2 separate regions of the Homo sapiens genome follow, and region 1 is linked to region 2. Evidence: promoter capture Hi-C in human tissues and cell types (Jung and others, 2019). All regions are on one chromosome and are shown on one strand. Each heading gives the region's core, a stretch centred on a gene start or on the middle of the fragment in contact. The rest is flanking DNA. Distances are from core to core; before and after follow the strand shown. Region 1 overlaps ZNF670 (zinc finger protein 670). Region 2 holds the start of ZNF670 (zinc finger protein 670).

Region 1 (3,272 bases), core at 672-3,171, 38 kb before region 2:
TTTTGAGACAGATTGTTTCTTCGTTGACCAGGCTGGAGTGCAGTGGCTCAATCTCGGCTCACTGCAACCTCCACTTCCTAGGTTCCAGCAATTAACCTGTCTCAGGCTCCCAAGTAGCTGGGATTACAGGCGCCTGCTACCACGCCTGGCTAATTTTTTTATTTTTTTGGTAGAGATGGGGTTTCACCATGTTGGCCAGGCTGGTCTTGAACTCCTGACCTCAGGCGATTCACCCGCCTTGGCCTCCCAAAGTGCTGGGATTACAGGTGTGAGCCACCACGCCCAGCCAAAACACTTGCGTTGTAATCAACTACGTGAATAAGTGTTGTTATTCTTACCTACAGAAGCCAGGTTCCTGAAGATTTCTTGCATCACATCTCTGTAGAGATTCTTTTGAGAAGGATCCAGCAAAGCCCACTCCTCCTGAGTAAAGGCCACAGCCACATCTTCAAATGACACTGAATCCTAGAATATCGCACATATGTGGAGAGGAGGATGGCTTAGACAGACAGTACTAAGAATCTATACTCATCTCATAAAATCGTAACATAATTCTGCAGACTTCAAACATTTCTTCCATGACCTGGTCATCAGAACTTTACTCTCTGTCTGCACTTACTGCTGCCCACTCAACATTCTTCATGCTAAAATGAAACTATTCAGAAAGTCAACAGCAGAGTAGGAACACCTGTCTCATTGGCAGGTGCAGGGAATAAACTGTGCTGTAAGAAATGAGGTCACCCCTAATTTCTATGTGTAGATTTTATCTTAAGGGCCTCTCATAACGAAGTCATGCTATTTGTTGTGTATAACAGTTAGTATTAAGTCTTAAGACTACATATCCTTAGAAATACCTGCTCACAAAGTCTGACCTTTTGGTGTGAGAAAATAGATTTTTTTGACGGATCTCATCACCCTAAGTGAGTGGTTCACAATATGTAAACAATCTTATGCAAACAATATATTATTCGCTGAACTCCAGTTTTGTTTTGTTTCTGAAAGCCTACTACTTTACTCCATTCTTGCAGTGGTACCTAGGGGATCAGCTCTGAAAAACACTCTGAGCATTAAGTCTCTAATGAGCATTCTTGGTAAACAATATTTCTCATATGCTGTTACAACTTGTTAACTGGAGAAATGAGGCATCAACGTGATTATAATAAGAAAATATTTGGAAGCTTGCAAGTAGTTTACTCCAGACCAAATTAAACCCAGTTGTAAATAAGACTGATAATTTATCTTTAATAACAAACAAAACAATTTTAAAATTTCTATTGGATAACAACAAAGTGCAATGGAGTAAGTGGAAAGATAGTACGTGTGCTTAGAAGAAACTCAATGTCATCAAGATATCACCTCTTTCAAATAGCCTTAAAAAATTCCATCAATCCCCAAAACAGACACTTTATTAGCAACTGAAAACTACTTTTCCAAACCTAACAAAAAAAAAATGTCTAAGAATTGTCAAAGTCTTCCAAACAATAGGGCAATGGCTTCCTTACCATGTATCAGAATTTTCAAACTATAATATTCAGGACAGTATTAATGTGGAGATAAACAAATAGTCCAAAAGGGAAAAAAGTTTTAAATAAGCAGGAATTTATTTTTATTTTATTTTTTTATTTTATTTTTTTGGTGAGATGGAGATTTACTCTTGTTGCCCGGGCTGGAGTGCAATGGCGTGATCTCGGCTCACCACATCCTCCGCTGCCTCCCAGGTTCAAGCGATTCTCCTGCCTCAGCCTCCCGAGTAGCTGAGATTACAGGCATGTGTCACCACGCCCAGCTGATTTTGTATTTTTAGTAGAGACAGGGTTTCACCATGTTGCCCAGGCTGATCTTGAACTCCTGACCTCAGGTAATCTGCCTGCCTTGGCCTCCCAAAGTGCTGGGCTTACAAGCCACTGTGCCTGGCCTGTAAGCAGGAATTTTGTATGTAAAGTTCATTAATGACAGAGCATTCCAGAATAGTGGAAGAAATCAAAAGCACTTTAAAACATACAGTAGAGCAAATTGGTACTAACTGAAAAAGTACATTGCATTCCCCTCTATTCCATGAACAATAATCAAGTTCTTTATTTCAAATATGAAAGACAAAACTAAAATACGTTCAGACTTCGAAGGAAAACAGGGGTATTTTTGGACAGAAAAATGGGCAGAATTCATTTAAACAGAAAAAAAGGAACTGGCAAATTCACATATATTAATATTCAGGAAATTAAAAGGCAAAAAGCAGTGGGAAAAAACTGTAATACATGCAATATAAAAGAATTAGTATGAAGTGTAAAAATGAACACGATTTAAAAGTGAGAAAATAAGCAAAGCATACTTAAAAGAAGATGAAAGACCACCTATTTTTTTAAAAAGTCAACTTCCTTGGTAATGAGAAAATAGAAAATAGTCAGGTATATGACATTTGAAATTGACTAGAAGAAAAAAATCAACTCCATGTGATGACGGCCATGGCAAACGGGTTACTCACGAAGGAAGGAGGAGTCAACTGATACCCTCCATTGCTCTAATTTGAACTTACCACAATGTGTAGCCCATTAATTTTTCTAAAATGTCCAGAGAATTTACGGTGCATTTGCACTTGGAGATGTGGCATAAAATCATAGGAGCATTATTTTTCCCAAAAGCAAAAAAATACAATTGAAAAAGCCCTCACATCAGAATCATTAAAATGGACGGCTGAATTAAATGGTCCACAGCCTCAGGCACTAGCATGTGTGAAACATACTGACACAAGGAAATCACCAATAAACCTTTTTGTTTTAATTCCATTCATACTCATTTTAGAAAGTTCAAGTAAAGCAAAATGGAACTGAAAAATTACAGATGATAAAAATGCAAAAAAGTAGCCAAACAATCACAACAGTGGTCAACTAAGAGATAAGTCTAGGTGGGAACCATCAGAAAACTCTTAATGACTGTAGGAGGCCCAGTTAAGAATCTTAATTATAATTTCCAAGTTGCTTCAACTATTGTTACTAAAACTCTTGACAAATGTTTTACTCATTCTTACTGTATTTCTTAATAGAAAACTTAAAAATTAATTAAAATGTAAAAGAACACAATTTTTATGTTTCTTTGCCTTATAACGTGATCTGAGTCGTGATTTACAGATTTCACAGAAATAAGTAAATTGAGCAGCACAGCTCACAGTGCTAGTTGCTCAGCAAGCAGCTAAAGTACACACCAGATACCAGGCGGCAGAACCGATTAGCAAGTCATTGCGAGAGAAGACAGAACCACATGGTGGTGGGCAATGT
Region 2 (3,076 bases), core at 30-2,529:
ATTATTTTCTGCTTTCCACTCATGTGTAATGTTCAGAAATATTTTAAGAGTGAAAACAAATATTTTCAGAACGACTCACTACTCTGAAAAAAATAACACACTTCATCTGTATGAAATGTACAATAAAAGACAAATACTTGATAATGTTGCATTTGAATATAGGAAAAGAATTGGAAATTTAGGGTTTTACTACAAGCCCCAGAAGAGTTAGGCTGTGGGAACAGGGTCGTTGATGTGAGATCCTGTTGCCATACACTTAGAAATGTGGAGTGTTATGTGAAAATAATTAAACACAGGCACTAGGGAGACTGAGGTGGGGGGATCGCTTGAGCCCGAGTCCAAGACTCCATCATACACATGTACATACACACATGAATGAATAAACAACCAACCAAAACGTAACTCATGCTTGTCTTGTAAATTAATAACTTAAAGGGAAACAAAACAGCCTTAAACAACCACGAACCCACCAATTAACCTCTGGTTACATAACCAGGAGATATCTGGCTGCACAGTCTATATGGGGTGACTACATAACTGTACACGATCAATTATTTAATTGGGTTTGCTTCCTCGGGTTCCTTACAAAAAACCCTTTCCTTCCCCAAACCACAAACCACGCTGGTGGCTTCCTAACTCACGACTCTCTGCTCAAATAAACTCCTTAATATTTTAACGGCGCCTCAGTTTTCTTTCTAACAGGAGAAAGGAGGATTTGGAGACTTCACAGACCACAGCTCCTCCCACGCAGGAACCCCGAACCCCAAGTCGGGACTCTCCCCTGAGGACCCTCCCGTCGGCACCGCACGATCCGAGGGAGATGCGGGTCTACAGAGGCAGAGCTGCCCAGAAAGGGTTCCGGGCCTGGCCGAAGCGGCGGGGCAGGGACAAGCCAGGCGGCCCGGGGTCTGGCTGCGGGTCCAGCCCCGCATCCTGTGCCACTAAGGCCGCGAGGCGCCGGCGGAAACTCGGGTCGGCACCGCGGGGAGGTCCGGGTTCGCCACAACCGCTTCCTGGCGGTTCCCTTTTCCCCTTCCCGAGACACCTGGCCGGCACACTCACCATTTCCCAGTCTCCGGTGTCTGGGGTCCTCCCTAAGGACCTTCCGGGACCTGCAGGTCCCAGAGCAACAGAAGCTGCCGCGGGACCACTTGGACCTCCCAGGGATAAGGGGAAGGAGCAGCGGAGACGCACCGAGCTCGCCACATTCGCGCTGCCCAACACAAAAGCCGCGCCAGGTCCCGGAAGCTGCTCCCTCCTTTCGCGGCGCGCTTGAGAGTACAGTCCCCTTCCCAGCGCCCGATTGGACAGGGCCTTAGGCCCCGCCCCTTCAGTCCTGAGTGACGGGAGATGCAATCAGACACGGCGCTGAGTGAGGCCAGGTTCTTTCCCTGCAGTCCTTTTCTAAGGCATGGATTCTGCCCTGTGCTGAGACCTGGCGCCCCCCGGGGGACTTTCCCATTCAAGCTCATACACAGGATTATGTCCATTTATGAGTAATATTTGTGATATTTACAATTGGAAACACTATGATGACAATTATTCTAAAATTTCAGATTTCACAACCTTCCTGGCCTCTGGTCTTTTGAGGAGGCAGCCTGAATTTTTTTTTTTTTCTTGCTTCTAGTGGGATTAGAGGCAGCTTGAATTTTGAAAAGACAATGTCCTCTCAGGTAGCAACGCCCCATAGAAATAAAATGTGAGCCGCGTGTGTTCCAGTAGCAATAGAAAAGAAAACAACACGTGAAATTGATTACAATGATTTATTTAACCAAATATATCCAAAAATATTGTTTCAATATATGATCGATGTTAAGCTCGCGCCTAATTGAAGAGACTACCCAAACAGGTTAAGTGTGAGCAGCAAGGCTAGTTTACTCACTCGGGTGCGAGCGGGCTGAGTCCGAAAAGAGGGTCAGCGGAGGGTCGTGGGATTGGAGTTAGTTTTATAGGTGAGGGGTAAGCAGTGGAAAGTTACAGTCAGGGGCCGTTTATTACCGGCGGGGGAAGAATGTCACAAAGTACATTGTCACAAGAGGGAGGGGTCACAGTGTCACTAGGCTGATTGATCAGTTAGGGTAGTGCACGTCACAACGGTAAAATGCTGCAAGGTTGGCTAATCAGCTAAGACAGAAACTAGCCGTTTTTCTTCCTTTGTGGTTTTCCTGTTGTCCCAGACTTTCTGGCTCCAGGACCTTCTGGATGTACACGTGTGGGTCACAGGGATCACAATGGCTTGACCATGGCGCAGCCTGCTCAGACGGCCTTACAATCGATATATTATTAATGAAAAATCACTCTATATATTAAGCTTCCAGCATGTTTCAATTCAGCCTGCACATTTGGATACACGTGTCTGGTTTTACCACTTTATTTTAAGGTTGTTCGGGAATGTCTGCCTGTTCCTTTCATGTAACTGTTCATTATTTATTGATTACTATTTCTTAATTTCACTTATCTCAGTGAGAGTTGCCAAATAGTGGTTTTCTAATTATTTTCTCTACAGGTATTAGTTCTCATTCTTCTATTAAAAATGGCGTTTTCTCATGAACTCTCTCCATTACATTAAAACCTACCCTATTAGGAAAGGAAGAATAAAAGCTTGATTCTCCCTTTAATCAATTGTCATAACAATGACGGCGTGGCCTCAGCAAACAAAAAAAATGTGAGTGACTTTTTTCTAACCTTATTTTTTGTGTATTTAATGAGATTCCATACACTGCAGTCTGTATCTATTTTTTGAGCTCAAATTATCCCTTTTTTTTTTTTTTTTTTTTGAGACCGAGTCTCACTCTGTTGCCCAGGCTGGAGTGCAGTGTGGCATGATCTCGGCTCACTGCAACCTCTGCCCCCCGGATTCAAGCGATTCTCGTGCCTCAGCCTCCTGAGTAGCTGGGATTACTGGCACCCACCACAACGCCTGATTAATTTTTGTATTTTTACTAGAGACAGGCTTTCACCATATTGGCCAGGCTGGTCTGGAACTCCTGACCTCAGGTGATCCACCCACCTCGGCCTCCGAAAGTGCTGGGATTACAGGCGTGAGCCACCGCGCCCGGCCAAATTGTCCCATCGT

Evidence for each region. Contacts are between HindIII fragments. The study calls those that stand out against the background at their distance.
Region 1: a contact is called between a fragment that was not itself captured here and the fragment with the promoter of ZNF670 in region 2, in 2 of the 25 tissues and cell types used here (neural progenitor cells and thymus).

What each region holds. Positions count from the first base shown.
Region 1 is chr1:247,039,073-247,042,344 of GRCh38, forward strand. It overlaps ZNF670 (zinc finger protein 670), which reads right to left. Exons shown (of 4, transcript NM_033213.5): 2 at 339-465. The region is part of intron 1 of ZNF670-ZNF695 (ZNF670-ZNF695 readthrough (NMD candidate)); the gene reads right to left. Among named protein-coding and RNA genes, the nearest start is that of ZNF695, 33 kb to the left of the region's middle. The HindIII fragment of the contact is 4,338 bases long and covers 1-3,272 here.
Region 2 is chr1:247,077,532-247,080,607 of GRCh38, forward strand. ZNF670 (zinc finger protein 670) reads right to left here and starts at 1,280. Exons shown (of 4, transcript NM_033213.5): 1 at 1,063-1,280. The coding sequence starts at 1,065. ZNF670-ZNF695 (ZNF670-ZNF695 readthrough (NMD candidate)) reads right to left here and starts at 1,280. Exons shown (of 7, transcript NR_037894.2): 1 at 1,063-1,280. RefSeq lists silencers at 1,143-1,456, 1,245-1,314. The HindIII fragment of the contact is 11,562 bases long and covers 1-3,076 here.